Regions from separate parts of the Homo sapiens genome. Here regions 2, 3 and 4 are each linked to region 1. Evidence: promoter capture Hi-C in human tissues and cell types (Jung and others, 2019). All regions are on one chromosome and are shown on one strand. Each heading gives the region's core, a stretch centred on a gene start or on the middle of the fragment in contact. The rest is flanking DNA. Distances are from core to core; before and after follow the strand shown. Region 1 holds the start of SLC30A2 (solute carrier family 30 member 2). Region 2 overlaps MTFR1L (mitochondrial fission regulator 1 like). Region 3 overlaps CEP85 (centrosomal protein 85). Region 4 holds the start of CATSPER4 (cation channel sperm associated 4).

Evidence for each region. Contacts are between HindIII fragments. The study calls those that stand out against the background at their distance.
Region 2: a contact is called between a fragment that was not itself captured here and the fragment with the promoter of SLC30A2 in region 1, in 1 of the 25 tissues and cell types used here (dorsolateral prefrontal cortex).
Region 3: a fragment that was not itself captured here is called in contact with the fragment with the promoter of SLC30A2 in region 1 in 4 of the 25 tissues and cell types used here (dorsolateral prefrontal cortex, mesenchymal stem cells, psoas muscle and 1 more).
Region 4: the fragment with the promoter of CATSPER4 here is called in contact with the fragment with the promoter of SLC30A2 in region 1 in 1 of the 25 tissues and cell types used here (adrenal gland).

The regions. Positions count from the first base shown.
Region 1 is chr1:26,043,764-26,047,859 of GRCh38, forward strand. It overlaps SLC30A2 (solute carrier family 30 member 2), which reads right to left and starts at 2,355. Exons shown (of 8, transcript NM_001004434.3): 1 at 2,084-2,355; 2 at 1,234-1,454; 3 at 535-681. The coding sequence starts at 2,133. RefSeq lists an enhancer at 1,386-1,954. The HindIII fragment of the contact is 12,838 bases long and covers 1-4,096 here.
Region 2 is chr1:25,830,952-25,835,047 of GRCh38, forward strand. MTFR1L (mitochondrial fission regulator 1 like) reads left to right here. Exons shown (of 7, transcript NM_001099625.2): 7 at 970-1,987. The coding sequence ends at 1,075. AUNIP (aurora kinase A and ninein interacting protein) reads right to left here. Exons shown (of 3, transcript NM_024037.3): 3 at 3,055-4,096. The coding sequence ends at 4,042. Among named protein-coding and RNA genes, the nearest start is that of MTFR1L, 13 kb to the left of the region's middle. The HindIII fragment of the contact is 3,867 bases long and covers 1-3,681 here.
Region 3 is chr1:26,252,046-26,256,141 of GRCh38, forward strand. It overlaps CEP85 (centrosomal protein 85), which reads left to right. Exons shown (of 14, transcript NM_001319944.2): 4 at 3,126-3,820. Among named protein-coding and RNA genes, the nearest start is that of CEP85, 20 kb to the left of the region's middle. The HindIII fragment of the contact is 5,989 bases long and covers 1-4,096 here.
Region 4 is chr1:26,189,200-26,193,295 of GRCh38, forward strand. It overlaps CATSPER4 (cation channel sperm associated 4), which reads left to right and starts at 1,403. Exons shown (of 10, transcript NM_198137.2): 1 at 1,403-1,641; 2 at 2,088-2,231. The coding sequence starts at 1,429. It overlaps CNKSR1 (connector enhancer of kinase suppressor of Ras 1), which reads left to right. Exons shown (of 21, transcript NM_006314.3): 21 at 80-685. The coding sequence ends at 349. RefSeq lists an enhancer at 1,289-2,106. The HindIII fragment of the contact is 15,004 bases long and covers 1-4,096 here.

The sequences.
Region 1 (4,096 bases), core at 1,105-3,604:
ATCATCTGAGTCCACCTTTTTGGTTGTACATGTAAAGAAGCTGACTTATTAAAGTATGTGCCTTTTGTTCAGCTAGTAAACTGAGGCTTCTGGGGAAGACAGGCTGGGCCATCTCCCACAAAGAGGAAGGTGACGATGCAGTCCAGGGTGAACGGAAGAGAGGTTAAAGCCTATATCTTCCAGCAGCCTTTGCTGGCCTTCCCCTCCCCCCAGAGCTGATCCACAGAGTTATGTGCAGTGTTAATGCCATTGTCATTTGTTCTTGAAGCTTGGCTACTGCACTTCTTAGGAAGGTCAACTTTGCTTCCCTGCAGACTGAGAGCTCCTGGATGACTGGGACCAGGGCTCCCCCATCAGACTAGGATTTCCCAGAGGACAGAGGCCATGGTTGACATCCTCTTCCCCCATCCAGATCACCCTCCTGGCCTCACTCAGGGGAGGAAGGGGGGATCCACCCATTACAGCCACCTAAGAACCCCTGTTCTAACCCACCCTCTCTCTCAACCCCATCTCCAGCCAAACCGCGATCCTCACCAGCTCTCTGCCAGCCAAAGTTCATGGTCTTGGTGGCTGGCCGGGAGGACATCCAGAGGGAGAAGAGGCTGATGAGCATGCTGGCAAAGTCAGTGAGCAGGTGTGCTGCGTCAGTCATGACAGCCAAGCTGTGTGCCAGGTACCCACCTGCAGGGTGGAGGGTCCTTATCAGCTCCCCCAGAGAGCTGGCTCCCAAGACTGTGTGTGCAGCAGGGAGACCACAGGCTCTGGAAGAGGACATTCTGGGCTCAAGATCTCTCTACCCATGAGCTGTACCACCGTGACAAGTGACCTACTCTCTCTGAGCCTCAACTTCCACTCTCTGTGAAATGGGCCACCAATATCTACTTAGAGGGTGAATGTGCACATCAAGTTCAAATAGGGACTGGAAAACATAGCAGATACTCAGTAAATGCTCTTCCCTTCTAGGAATTCAGGCCTTCCCTTAGCTACGAGTTGTGCGTGATCTTTGGCAAGTTACTTCACCTGAACATGCCTCAGTTTCATCATCTGTAAAGTAAGGAGAATAACGTCACCCATGTGAGAACACAGGTTGTTGTTAGACCTGCATCAGATAATGTGTATATAAAGGCTTACTGTAGTGTGTGTTCAGTAATTGGGGCTTTTAGTGTCAGTATTGCTGGGAACATCCAGTCTATCCATGCACCAACTTCATTTAATTAGCCCAAAAGTGCTTACCAACGACTTCTCCGATCATGAACAACAGGCAGATGGCAGAGGCTACATACAGCTGGCGCTGGGCCTTCCCCTTCTTGGGGTCACAGTGACTGTCAGGACCCTTCTGAGCATGGCAGTGATGGTTGCTCTGGGCAGCCAGCTCAATGGCCTGCAAGTCCAGGCCAGGTCGGGGCAGAGGAATCCAGCCAGCCCCTTCCTGCCACAGAGATCCCGTGTATGACCTGGCCAGAGGGGAAGAGAGGGAACGCTCAGCTCTGAGATGAGGTAAGGAGGGCCGACTCTAGTCCCATTTCTCTGTGAGGCCTTGTGTCCACTGGGAAAAATAGCTAAGGACGCTCCGAGCTCGACAAACCAGAGGTGAGAAGCCTGTATTCAGACGGGGATGATAGGGGAATGGGAGTCCTGGGGCCCGGGGCCCTTCAGAGGCCAGAGGAGGTGAAGACCCTGGGAACCGGCCAAGGGGCGTGCTGTCCAGTGGAGCGCGGGGAAGGAACAGAGCGCAGGCTCTGGGAGAACAGCAGGCCCCCTCCAGCGCACTTGGGACACAGGGCCTCCCCGGGGCGGGGCTGCCTGGGGCAAAGTGCTGGGCGGGGCGGGACTCCAGGCATGGGAACCGCCAATCCCCCGGCCCCAGGCCCCCCGCGGGCAGGGGTCAGAATCTGGGCTGCGCCCCAAGGGAGAGACGGTCCTTGGGCCACAGCCCATTATCTTCGTTCCCTCACCTCACCCCACCCCTCCTGCATGGTCCCAGCTCAAGCCGCAGCCAAAACCAACCACTGCTAGGATGGCAAATGCGGAGGTGCGTCGGCTGCCGCCAAAATTCCCGCCCGTCCCCAGGCTCTCGCCTTACCGGATTGCCGGCCTGGCGTCCAACAGATGCTGCTTCTCCTTGGCCTCCATGCAGTCCCGCGCCGAGTCCCGGCAGCCGCGCAGCCGCCCCGCCGAGTGCGCCCTGAAAGTTGCGCGCGGGACTCCGGGTGGCGCTCACCCACCTGCCCCGAGGGCCCCGCGAGGTGCGCTCACTCCGGCCCGGCTCCTGCGGCCCCTGAGCTCCCCCGGCTCCCGCTGCGGCTGCAGCTCCGGCTCTGGCTCCGCGTGCCAAGCGCTCCCGTGTCTCGGGTCAGCCGCTGCGCCCCGCGGCCGCCGGCTTTATCCGGCCCTCGCCAACCCGTGTGAAGCTGCCGTCGGCGCGTCGTGTGCAAAAGCCCGCGGGGAAGGGGGGGCGGTCGCCGGCTGCAAAAGGCCCGGCTGTGGCCCCGCACACCTGTGCCTGCGCCCATGGGGCCCGCGGAGCCCACCTGCCGGCCGCGAGAAGTTTGCCAGCCTTCGCCCGGCGCGGCGCCGGGTGTTGCTGAGTGAGGACGGGGTGACGCCTGCGCCCCCTCTCCCGCGCGGGGTGCGCCGCCTCGCCGCCGAAAAGTTCTCGACTTTAGTTTGTAGAAATCCGCTTTGGTGGTCCCGACGGCAGGAATGTGGCTCCTTGCCTCGGAAGAGGGTCTCCAGAGGCTACTGGGGCCGCGTCTGCCCCCTCCGACTGGCGGCTGCCCTGGGCTTGATCATGTTCCCCTCTCAGGCCGGAGACCCCCCGAGGTCGGCTTGCGTTCCTGTCCTCCTGCTAGGAGGGTCCTGGGGTGGGGTGGGCTGCGCCGCCCTCAGGCTGGGGCAGTGTCTCTCCCTAGGACCGGCTGGGACTGATCGACCCATCCTCGCCACTGAAGCAGCGCCAGCTCCTCCTCTCCTGCGCGCAGGAGAATCTGGAGTGGCCGGCTTTGTCTCCACCCGCACAGAGAACAGTGTCATCGGCAGTCACCATCGGAGCAGAGACGACCACTGCCACTGCTGCCACCCCTTCTCCCCTCCCCCGCAGCGGCTCCTGGGAGCCCCAGGAAGCCTGACAAGCAAGCCTGGGAGATGCAGGCCGGAGGTGCCACCGTGTTGGTACCGCTGGGAGAAGCCCTGTCCTTCCTGGCCAGCTTGGTGCCCCACCCACTTGAAGCAGCCTCCTTCCCTGGCGGTTCTTGGGGATTGGGGAGCCTGTGGCCCCCACGCTGGCCTCTGACAGGTGCCCTCTGTGTAGAAAGAAGCTGCTGGAGACCTCCCTGTCTGGTCAATTCGTCTCCCCAGCACCCTTTGTCGCTAGGACCATAGGCTTGGTGGGTATGGCCTTTCACAGAGCCAAGAGTCAGAGGTGCAGGCCTCTTGCCCACACCACTGGGGACAGGAAGGGGCTCTTTCAGTCTCTCATCTTGTAGGAGACGGGGTGCCAGGAGTGAGGATGTGAGGTGCACCCGCTCTGCTTGGGTCCTCACTGAGTGCCTCTCTGCTTCTCTGGACTCTGGTTTTCTTCTGGAAAACCTCAGACACCCTGGTTTTCTCCAGGTCTGTCTACTCTGAGCACCAGCAGGCTCAGCATTACCTGGAGAAGGTGTTACAACGCAGGTTACAGGTCCCTGCATCAGACCAACCGAACCAGAATCTCTGGGTGTGGAGCCTGAATATTTCCAGGATTCAGTAGGTCTGGGGCAGGGCCTGGGAATCTGTATTTATAAAATTCTCTGGTGCTATTGTGGCATCATTGTTCATTTTTATGTATAGTGGTTTTTTTGTTTGTTTGTTTTTGAGACAGAGTTTCATTTCTGTCTCTGTCGCCCAGGCTCGACTGCAATCTCAGCTCACTGCAATCTCTGCTTCCCGGATTCAAGTGATTCTCCTGCCTCAGCTTCCTGAGTAGCTGGGATTACAGGTGCCCACGACCATGCCAAGCTAATTTTTGTATTTTTAGTACAGACAGGGTTTCACCATGTTGGCCAGGCTGGTCCTGAGGTTATGATTTTTTTCAAAGAACACCTTTATCTAAAGTATT
Region 2 (4,096 bases), core at 498-2,997, 210 kb before region 1:
TTTGGTCTTCTCTGAGCTGTCTTCTTCTGAACAAAATGTTTTATAGGTTGACTCTCAAACTTTCTCTTACTTGCCTTTTGGACCAAATTAGATTCAAGACCCTTATTGCTAGCCCCCTCCTCCCACTTGTGTCCTCAGATCAGAAGGAGCTGGGTCAGTGAATAAGAATGGGAAAGTACCCCAGTCAGCAAAGGTTCAGATATGTCACCAACCAAACGCAGTCCCTCTTGTTTTTGCTTTGAAGGTTGAATAGTCAGTCTTGGCTCTTATATTTAGCTTAATCACCAGTAAAACACCTTCATGATGAATGTATATAAGTTCACTAGGATTTCAAGCAACTATTTTCCAGGTATCTAGGACCCTCTTATATGATGTATCAGATAACTTGGGCCTACTTCAGTCTGGAGTTGGTTTTGTTCCCATGAGTTTCTTATGTGAATGTTTTGCTCTAATTCTGGCTCTCATAAAAAATCATCTCCCCTGAAGGGGAGACCCGGTGGTAGGAAATCCCAAGCACACCTTTTCTCCAGAACTATCAAGGGTCAGAATAGCCAAGAGTCATCAGTCACTTCCCCTGCTGACCCTCTGGGGAAATGCTACTAAGAAAACAGGGCCAGAAGGCAGAAGCTTAGCCACCAGAGGCCAACTCTAACAGACTGATGGTCCTTTACTTTGCCCATACTTTATAGCTATTTCAGGAAATAGTAAAGCATTCTAGTTAATAGATGAGATCTGGAACCAGCTAGTTTGGTTCTGAACTCTGGATTCACCGCTTACTTGCTGAGTGACTAGTGACCTTGGGCAACTTGTATAACCTTTCTGTGCTTCAATTTCCTTATCTGTGAAAGGGAATTGTAATGGCACCTACCTCGTAAGATTGTTGTGAGGATTCAACGAGATAATGTATTCAAAAGATATACAGCACTACACAGGAAAGAGTAAGTACTCAAGCTATTATTGTGTCTCTAGGAACCGGAGTTTATTGAAGGAGGAAGACCCTGCTGTGCTTATCTCTGAGGTCCTAAGGAGGAAGTTTGCTCTAAAGGAAGAAGATATCAGTAGAAAAGGAAATTGACAACCCTCAGCTCTGCAAACTCAGTCTCATGCTCCTGGAATACCTTCAATAGCTGCCTTCCTCACCGCAGATGTTTCTGCCTCTTAAGGATAGATCTTCTGCAACAGTCTTGCTGACAAGCTAGAGCTTGGACTGAAAGAGAAGAGCTGGATTATATATTTCCCAGACTTCAAACCCTAGCAGAAGCTAAGGCTTGTGATTTGACCTGAGACATTTGTTTCAGGTAATCGTGTAGAATGAAGTATCTTAGTTTAAAGGGTAAGAGAGAAGTTGTTTCTGGTTTTTCCTTGCCCCTGTGTGAAAATAGGTCCTAAATGACTGACTTCACTGCATTAGACCCTATAGCTGGTCTCACAAGACACTTTGTGCCCAGCTGTCACTCACTCAGCAGCTTCCTTGCAGCAGAGCAGGGCTGAGGGGAAGGGGCTATGAATGTTTGTATACATGTTCACAGGGCACGGAAAATCTTATGCTGCTCCGTCATAAACCTACACCAATGCCCAGCAATCACCCTCCTCACTTCCTTGTCTAGATGTAGAGGTCAGGCTGCTGAACCAGCCAACACATGGGCTACTGCTGGGAAGCCTGGGCTGTTTTTTTTCTTAAACACATTTTATATTACTGAACAACCAAATCTACCCTCCACGGCCCTGAGGCCTTATCAGTTCCACTGATTAAAAACTTTCTCTTCCACGGACTTTAAGCCCGGTAGGAAAGAGAGAGGAGGAGGGGGAAAGAGCAAACCATCTTTCTTCCAGGCCCTTGACTGCTCCTTTGGGCTGGGCCAAGGTTTGTATGTACCACACCATGCATGACTCAGATGCCCTCAGGTCCCTTTCTCTATGGTATGTATACTGCTTGTGTTTGGGTTGAAGCACTACCTGACATTAAAGGAAGGACTTGGAGAGAGAATGCATTTGCTGTGTCCATCTCTTGAGTTGCGATTACCCAGTATCCTTCAGGGGCATAGGATTATTGTTAATTTTAAGGTGTATGAACTTAAACAGGCTACTGGCTTCTCCTCTTTCCTTATAAGGTCCTGCCCTTCTAGGGGGTTTCTTCCCCCTTTCTGTAGAGATTTTGCCCTATACTCTTTTTCTTTTTTTTAGAAACAGTATCTAGCTCTGTCATGCCGGAGTGCAGTGGTGGGATCATTAGCTAACTGCAGCCTCCAAACTCCTGGGCTCAAGTGAGCCTCCCACCTTAGCCTCCTGAGTAGCTGGGACTACAGGTATGCACCACCACACCCAGGAAATTTTTAAATTTTTTTGTAGCGATGGGGTCTTGCTATGTTGCCCAGGCTGGTCTTAAACTCCTGGTCTCAAGCAAACCTCCCACCTCAGCCTCCCAGAGCGTTGAGATTACAGACATGAGCCACCGCACTAAGCCCCATACATTCTTAAAAGCAGGTCTTCCAGGAAAATGACTGGAGAGATGACATACACGATAAAAGTAGAATTTAACATTTAAATTAGGCCAGGCACAGTGGCTCACACCTCTAATCACAGCACTTTGGGAGTTCAAGATCAGCCTGGGCAACAAAGCAAGACCTCATCTCTACAAAATATTTTAAAAATAATTAGCTGGGCATGGTGGCATGTGCCTATAGTTCAGCTACTCGGGAGGCTGAGGTGGGAGAATCACTTGCGCCCAGGAGGTCCAGGCTGCAGTGAACCGTGTTCATGCCACCACACTCCAGCCTGGGCAAGAGAGCGAGACCGTGTCTCAAAAAAATAAAATTTAAGTTAAAAAAAAAAAAAGAAGCAGTTCTCTTATAACCTTGCAAGTTTGTCCCTTAGAGGTTGTTTAAGCCTCTTAGATACCACATCAACAACAAGGAATAATGCCTTGGGTAGAAGACAGGTCAAACTAGACTCTGGTTCAGATCAGGCTCAGGGCAATGACAGCATATACTATTACAGTGTTGCCTTTTCAAAAATAAAATTGGTAATGGTTTAATTACCAATTATCACAAGAGCCACTTTGTAAACATTTATTTGGATTCATAGTTTTACAAAGGGGATTCCCTCCTATCTTGTGGGAAAAGGGTAACAGAGTCACATCCAGATTGTTGTACAGCTCAGGCTTTTTAAGGGAGATATTTAAACATAGAGTATATAACTTTAAAGTGCTGTACAGTTACCACAAAAATAAAATAGGAAACTAGCACCATTCTACCTCTCTTCTCTCCACACCTGGGTTGTGGGGAGATTTGCTAATCACTGAAAAAAAAGGGTCAAGAGTAATCATCCCAAGCTTAGGCTGATGTGGGTTAAGATCAGCCAGAGATTAAAAGCTCACACATCTGGCTGGGCGCGGTGGCTTATGCCTGTAATCTCAGCACTTTGGGAGGCTGAGGTGGGCGGATCAGGAGGTCAGGAGATGGAGACCATCCTGGCTAATATGGTGAAACCTCGTCTCTACTAAAAATCCAAAAAAAATTAGCTGGGCGTGGTGGCGCATGCCTGTAGTCCCTGCTATTCGGGAGGCTGAGGCAGGAGAATCGCTTGAATCCGGGAGACAGAGGGTGCAGTGAGCTGAGGTCGCACCACTGCACTCCAGCCTGGCAACAGAGCGAGACTCCATCTCAAAAAAAAAAAAAAAAAAACACATCCATAAGCAAGGTCCCAGTCAGACATCTGGAAGGGCAAAGAGATGGCTCTGTGCAGGCTGAGTAAAAGGCACTTTCATAGAGATAAATACCCACTGTGCTGCCTCAGTGTTCATCATAGACTCATTCAGGGAATTTACCAGCCACCACCTTCCTGAGGGAAAGCCATGATGCCAATCCCACTGTCTTAACAATGGTACTGCCCTTTATTTACACAGAGAAGATGCTCAGTAATGACAACTTCATCCCATGCCACCTTCCCACCTAAACAAACTCACTCCTCTCTCCACCCACAACTATATTTTCCTACATCTCTATCATTTCAAGGTACTTTTAGAAACAAAGCTTCAAACATTTAGAATTGGTGTCTGATAACTTGATTACCTTCAGAGTCCTGGGTAAAGAGCAAA
Region 3 (4,096 bases), core at 777-3,276, 210 kb after region 1:
AACATGGTGAAACCCCGTCTACTAAAAATACAAAAATTAGCCAGGCATGGTGGCGGGCTCCTGTAATCCCAGCTACTCGAGAGGCTGAGGCAGAAGAGTCGCTTGAACCCAGGAGGCAGAGGTTGCGGTGAGCCAAGATCGTGCCACTGCACTCCAGCCTGGACAACAGAGTGAGTGAGACCCCATCTCAAAAAAGAAAAAATTGGGCCGGGGGCAGTGGCTCACACCTGTAATCCCAGCACTTTGGGAGGCCGAGGCGGGCGGATCACCTGAGGTTGGGAGTTCAAGACCAGCCTGACCAGCATGGAGAAGCCCTGTCTCTACTAAAAATACAAAATTAGCCGGGCGTGGTGGAGCATGCCTTTAATCCCAGCTACTTGGGAGGCTGAGGCAGGAGAATCGCTTGAACCCAGGAGGAGGAGGTTGTGGTGAGCCAAGATCGCGCCATTGCACTCCAGCCTGGGCAACAAGAGTGAAATTCCGGCTCCAAAAAATAAAACAAAAAATTGTATTGCTTACTAGTCTTTGAAGTCTTTATCACTAGCAGTCTGCCTTAACCTTGTGTACTAGTCCTATATTTAAGTTGTGAGACATCAGAAACTGGGTCCTTTAACTGAGAAATTTCTTTCTTGGTCCTGAGAGACTAATGCATGTTATCAGAACTTATTCAGGTTTTTGTTTTGTTACGTGTGTGTGTGTTTTTTTAGTGTGGCCTTTTATATATCCCCAAGATCATCTTCAGTATAGCAAATTAGATACTATGCATGTAATATAAGGCTTGCACGTCTTTTTTTAAAGTATTTATTCCTCCTGTCTAACCGAAATGTTTTACCCTTTGATCAGCATCTCTCGATTCCCCCTGCTCCCAGCTTCTGGTAACCACAATTATTCTCTCTGTTTCTATGTGTCGAGGTTTTTTTTAGCTTCCACATATAAGTAAGAACGTGCAGTATTTGTCATTTTGTGCCTGGCTTATTTCTCTTAGTGTCCTCCAGTTTCATCCATGTTGTTGCAAGTGACACAATTGACATCTTTTATAAGGCTGGTATTCCGTTGTGTAATATACTGCATTTTCCTTATCTGTTCGTCTGTTGATTCTATAACTTGGCTATTGTGAATAATTACTCAGTAAACATGGGATTGTAGATATCTCTTGGACATACATATTTCATATCGTTTGGATATATACCCAGAAGTGGATTGCTGGATCATATGGTAACTATTTTTAGTTTTTTGAGGAGCTACATACTCCATTGTTTTCCACAGTGGCTGTGTTACATTCCCCCCAACTGTGTACTAGAGTTCCCTTTTCTCTGCATCCTCTCCAAACTTGTTATCTTTCATCTTTTTTTTTTTTTTTTTGAGATGGAGTCTCACTCTGTCGCCCAGGCTGGAGTGCAGTAGTGCGATCCTGGCTCATTGCAACCTCCACCTCCTGGGTTCAAGCGATCCTCCTGCCTCAGCCTCCCGAATAGCTGGGACTACAGGCGCGTGCCACCATACCTGGCTAATATTTTGTATTTTTAGTAGAGACAGGGTTTCACCGTGTTAGCCAGGATGGTTTCGATCTCCTGACCTCATGATCCCCCCTCCTCAGCCTCCCAAAGTGCTGGGGATTACAGGCATGAGCCACTGCGCCCGGCCTCATCTTTTTCATCATAGCCATTCTGACAGGTGTGAGGTGGCTTGCCCATATTTTTAAAGAGTTGCTTAAGGCCGGGCATGGTGGCTCACACCTGTAATCCTAGCACTTTGGGAGGCTGAGGCAGGTGGATCACTTGAGCCCATGAGTTCGAGACCAGTCTGGGCAACATGGCGAAACCCCATCTCTCCTAAAAATACAAAAACTGAGGTGGGAAGATCACCTGAGCCTGGGGAGGTCGAGGCTGCAGTGAACTGTGATCACGCCACTGTGCTCCAGCCTGGGTGACAGAGTGAGACCCCATTTCAAAAAAAAAAGTTGTTTAATGAGAAGGTCGTAGCTGATCTATACTTACATAATTCTGGGAACAATTATAGTATTTGTTGTTGTTATCTGAGTGTTCTCTGTGTTGGTTGCTGGGGAGAAAAAGAAACAAGTTGGTAGTCGCTCTTCTCCGTGGTAGATATGCTTGATTTGGGAACGAGTACTGAATATAGTTGAAAAGAGAAGAAATTGGTATTCCTTATTTCCTTATTCAGTTTTCTGCCTGCTGAAAGCAATAAGTATGTTACCTCACATTCCTCCCTTATTGTTTGCTTGCAGTAGTCCCCCTCAGAGTAGTACTTGAAAGTTGGAAATAGGTAGAAATGTGAACCTTGTATAGTAGGGCTAATCAAGGGTTGTCTCCCAAGACCAGGCAGGAGCCAAAGGAAACACAAATTCAGTCTGAAGGAAAAGTTAAAAAAAAAAAAACACAGTTGGGTACACACAAGGGGGCAAGTGAAAGGCAAAATATAAAATAGAGGATTTCAGTGTGTACCCAATTGAGAGTGCTCACTGTGCTAGAGTGAAACCTGAGAGTTACTAAGAATAACTTCACATATCCAGGCAGTCAGGTTTGGGGTATGGGAGAGAGAACAGAATCCTGCCTCAGATGCCATACTCCCTGTCCTGCATACTGAGCAAGACTGTCTAGTTCGCTTCATTCTTCAGATAGTTTGGACTCGTTGCTCACCTTCCTGGGGGAGCTTTTGGAGGTCGCAGAAGATTCTGGTGACTCTTGGAAAGGATATTTTTATTAGATTTGATTATAGCTGAGAGTTGTCCAGCTTCCAGAAGAGTAGGACCTAACTCATTTTCCTTAAGTAAGTAATTTGTTTTAAAGTTTAAATTTTTTAAAAAACTTTTTAAAAGTTTTTCAGCTTTGTCTGTTGACTGACAAGATTTTTTTTATTCCAGTACAAAGGACTAAGTTAAAAGTGAAGTCATTATTGCCTTTTGTTAGTTTACCTTGTGAATGGCATTTGAGATCCTGGAACATACATCTCCCAGTTTGGTTGCCGTTTCTTTCTGCCTGATACTTTTGATGATGGTGCTCTCTCTGCTTGGTCTCAGGACAGGCCGAGAGCTTCTGGCATAGCATTCAAACTCAAGAAAGCTTGCTACTTCAATTTTTACTTATGGAAGACTATTCTCTCCCCAGATTTTTGCAGCTCAAGTGGCAGTCCTCCTTTCCAGCCCATCAAAAGCCACGTAACCATTCCAACAGCCCATGTGATGCCTTCTACTTTAGGGACCTCTCCTGCCAAGCCAAATTCTACACCTGTTGGACCCTCTTCCTCTAAACTCCCTTTGTCAGGGTTGGCTGAAAGTGTGGGAATGACAAGAAATGGAGACCTCGGTGCAATGAAACATTCTCCAGGCCTATCTAGAGATCTCATGTATTTCTCTGGTGCTACTGGAGAAAATGGAATTGAGCAGTCCTGGTTTCCAGCAGTGGGCCATGAAAGACAAGAAGAGGCGAGGAAGTTTGATATTCCTAGCATGGAATCTACCCTCAATCAGTCGGCAATGATGGAGACACTTTATTCAGATCCTCACCACCGAGTCCGCTTCCACAACCCAAGAACCAGCACAAGTAAGGAGTTGTACAGAGTGTTGCCTGAGGCCAAGAAGGCACCGGGCAGCGGGGCAGTGTTTGAGCGGAATGGACCACATTCTAATAGCAGTGGGGTCCTCCCTTTGGGACTCCAGCCTGCTCCCGGGCTCTCCAAGCCTCTGCCCTCTCAGGTGTGGCAGCCGAGTCCTGACACTTGGCATCCCCGAGAGCAATCTTGTGAACTCAGCACTTGTCGGCAGCAGCTGGAATTGATTCGTTTACAGATGGAGCAAATGCAGGTAGAGGTCTATCTTTCCTTGGATTTTCTAGGTTCTGTACAGTTCTTAGAATTGTAATAGCTTTTGTCCTTTGAATTTTGGCTTAAAGAAAATAGCTGTAAAAAGAAGGAAGATGTTTGTAGACAGGAAATACAGGCTTGTGAGCTGTTGGCCATTGAATCTGTTTGGTAGTCAAATTAAGCACCAGATAGGGTCTCCAAAATAGCAAAAGGTTACAAAGGAAAACCTAAAAACGTATTTATACGTCACTAGGCTAAGTACTTTCACATACAGCAT
Region 4 (4,096 bases), core at 153-2,652, 140 kb after region 1:
CTCCGGAGTGAAGTCTGGCCTCGGGCTCTGCCCACTTCCCTGGGTGATCATGGTCCCTTAGCCCCTCCTCTCCACACAGGCAAAGCTGCAGGAGCTGCAGGTCCTAGAAGAAGTGCTGGGTGACCCTGAGCTGACAGGAGAGAAGTTCCGCCAGTGGAAGGAGCAGAACCGGGAGCTGTACTCAGAGGGCCTGGGGGCCTGGGGAGTGGCACAGGCTGAAGGCAGCTCCCACATCTTGACCTCTGACTCCACAGAACAGTCCCCCCACTCCCTGCCCTCTGACCCTGAAGAGCACTCCCATCTCTGCCCCCTGACCTCAGAGAGCAGCCTCCGACCTCCTGACCTCTGACCCTGGCCAGCACTCTAGCTCCTGACCTTTGACCCGAGGGCCACCTCAACCCCAGCTTCTGACGTGTCCAGGACAGAGCATCCCTGGATTCTGTTCAGGGTGGGAAGTAGTACTGCTAGTCATGGTCTCACCCCGAGCTGACCCCTCTGCCTGGGCTTTGTGCCACCCTCTCCCTTGCCAAAGAAGAAACTCTCCCCCCAAATCCTCCAACCTCTGGGGCCACAGCCCTGCCCCTCCAGTTCCTTGGCAGTTCTCCCCCAAACCAGGTCTGTACAGGTGTTCTTTATTTTACATGAGGGCTACTTTCCAACCAAATAAAGTCAATTTTTCTAAGAATGAGTCTACATGTAACTTTACTTCCATATTCGAATTGGAAATCTGCCCCCCTGTGGGGACTGGGGTGAGTGCTCTTGGCCAGAGGGTGGGTGGCAGACCCTTCGTGCAGCCCGTTGGCCTGGGCTCTGTACCCGAGCTCCAAGCCTGCCAGGATGGTGGGGGATGACCCATGGCTAATGAGGGCTCCGACTCATGTCCACCTCTCCCCAGCTCTTTGAAGGCTAATGGTGATCTCCTACCCCATTCCCGGGGGGCACACAATGAGAAACTTCCACTTTGTAGATGGGGAAATGCACTTTGCACGGAAAGGTGGTGGGGACAGTCCTGGAGACTGGGCTGGTAGGACAGGGCAGCTGGTGGGGAAGGGTGCAGGTTGAGGTCTGCCCTGGGAAGGCCCTGGGGAAAACACTTCTCTCCTTCACTCCTCATTCCAGCCTCACCTCCACCTCCTGGATCCAAGGCAGGGACATGTCCCTGTGACTCCATTCAGGCTGCACGGGAAATCTGACCTGCTCCCATCAGCCTCTGACTTCCAACCCCAGCCCAGCATCCCCACAGCATCCCCAGACTTCCTCTGTGGGATGCGGAGGAGGGCCAATGGGAGGAGCTTCTCTCCAGGTTGGAATTCCTCAGTAGAATGCAGACGGCTGGAGGTCACAGAGGCCTCTGTGATATCACCACGAGGGGGAGTGAGACCACTTGGAGTGAAGATTCTTTGAGGAGAAGGAAGAGACTGAGCAAACATGAGGGATAATGAAAAGGCCTGGTGGCAGCAATGGACCTCCCATACAGGCCTCGAGGGGTGGGGCGGGACTCAGGAGGACCGTATGGGGTTTGGAGGGGCAGTAGCTGCACTGAGGGGCCGCCCCTCTCCCCTGCAGAGTACCATTCACGAGTCCTACGGTCGGCCAGAGGAGCAAGTGCTCATCAACCGCCAGGAAATCACGAACAAAGCGGTAAGGATAGCTCTCGCCCCACAGTGGCCCCTTCTGCAGCTGTGCTCATGGGCAGCAGGCCCTCATGGTAACTCTGCCCCTCTACCCTCTAAACGCCCCCAGAAGACCCTCCCTAGCACTGATCCCTGAGTGACTGCCCATGATATGTTAGTAACTCTCTGGCAATGCCCCCCATAGGAACCCTTATATAACGATCATCTTCACTATCAGAGAGCCCAAAGAGATTCTCTGGCAATGACTTCCACAAAATCCCCCGATAGTAACCCACTTTTAGTGGCCATTTAGATAGTGATCTCTACACTGATGTCTCCATTCCATGATCCACTCTCAGATGATTTCCCCCCTCTAGAGTGGGCCCCAGGAACCCCCATTCTCTAAGAGCAAACCCCCAGGCAGAGGCTTCCTATGGTGACACCTGCCTGAAGGAAGGTCCTGCCCTCTTCCAGGACGCCTGGGACATGCAGGAGTTCATCACTCACATGTACATCAAGCAGCTGCTCCGACACCCCGCCTTCCAACTGCTGCTGGCCCTGCTGCTGGTGATCAATGCCATCACCATCGCTCTCCGTACCAACTCCTACCTGGACCAGGTGGGATGCCAGCATGACCTCTGCCCCACTAACCCTAATGGGGGGCCTGGGGCAAGAACTCTTCCGGCCTCAGGCTCCTCATCTGTCTATGATGGTTGGATTGGATGCTCTTCAAGGGTCTGTCAGCTCTGACCTTCTAGGAATCTGGAGATCAAGGAAGACTTCATGATGGAGAGGGCTCTGCAGCCTGGCTTTGAGGAATGCATTGGATTTGTACAGGAGGGACAGGAGAAGAATGGTGTGAGCAGAGGGAGGCAAATGGGTGCCTTGTGGAGAAGGGGTATCCAATTCTAACCAGCAGTCACTAAGGGAGAATCACTCAGTGCCAGGCACTGACTGTGCAGACTGCCAGGGTCCCAGGGATAATAAGCACAACTGGGTCCTGTCTCAGACACACAGAAACTGTCATTACAAGTGCTCAAGTAGCACCCAGAGTACATGGAGGCTCAACGAAGGCACTCGAACCTAATCTCAGGGGTCAGAGCTGGCTTCCTGGAGAAAGTGACACTGGAGCTGAGAGTAAAGAAGTAGGATGTGATCTCAGTCACCACAACAAAGAAACAGAAAAAAAGAGCACGTAGGAGTTGGCCAGGCAAAGAGAGGTGGGGGAGACTTTTTGGGGAAAAGAAACAGCATGTGAGAGACTTCTCTGTGTCCAACTTGAAGTTTAGTGTGACTTATCCTTGATGTTTTAATTTCTTTTTTTTTTTTTTTAGAGACAAGGTCTCACTCTGTCACCCAGGCTGGTGTGCAGTGGCGCCATCTTGGCTCAATGCAGCCTTGAACTCCTGGACTCAAGTGATCCTCCTGCCTCAGCCTCCCAAGTAGCTAGGACTACAGGCACGAGCTACCATGCCTAATTAAAAAAATGTTTTTGAGCCAGGCGCAGTGGTTCATGCCTGTAATCCCAACACTTTGGCAGGCCAAAGTGGGTGGATCACCTGAGGTCAGGAGTTCAAGACCAGCCTGGCCAACATGGTGAAACCCCGTCTCTATTAAAAATACAAAAATTAGCCAGGCATGGTGGTGGGCGCCTATAATCCCAGCCACTTGAGAGGCTGAGGCAGGATAATCGCTTGAAGCAGGGAGGCGGAGGTTGCGGTGAGCCGAGTTTGTGCCACTGCACTCCAGCCTGGGCGACAGAGCGAGACTCTATCTCAAAAAAAAAATTTTTTTTGTAGAGACAGGTTCTCGCTCTGTCGCCCAGGCTGGTCTGGAACTCCTGGGCTCAAGCAATCCTCCAGCCTTGGCCTCCCAAAGTGCTGAGATTATAGGTGTGAGCCACCATGCTGGGCTGAGGACTATTTAGAATGCTTTTTTGAATAATGGTGTGGATGTCCTATTGTCTCCAGTGGCCATATGTGACAGTGGGCCCTAAGGCACTGAGTCTGTTGCACTTTGGGGTAAAGCGCACTTTTGGGGAGGACACTTTGAGAGGTCAAGACAGGCAGATCACTTGAGGTCAAGGGTTCGAGACCAGCCTGACCAACGTGGTGAAACCCCATCTCTACAAAAATACAAAATTAGCCAGGCATGGTGCGCACGCCTATAATCCCAGCTACTTGGGAGGCTGACGTAGGAGAATCGCTTGAACCCAGGAGGCGGAGTTTGCAGTGAGCTGAGATGTCACATTAAAAAAAAAAAGAAAGAAAGGGAGGAGACACGGTGACTTGGGTGACTGCTAGGTGGAGTCGGGCACTATGGGGGCTGTTAGTGGGGTCGCAGCCATAAGGAAGCTGAAGGAGTTTCGAGGTTGAGAGAAAGTGAATTGGGCTCTGGACAGACCCCAGTCACCCATCTACCAATTCATCCATCCAGGGTGCATGTCCTGGACCCATGAGTGGCAGGATACCCAGGAGTTTGGT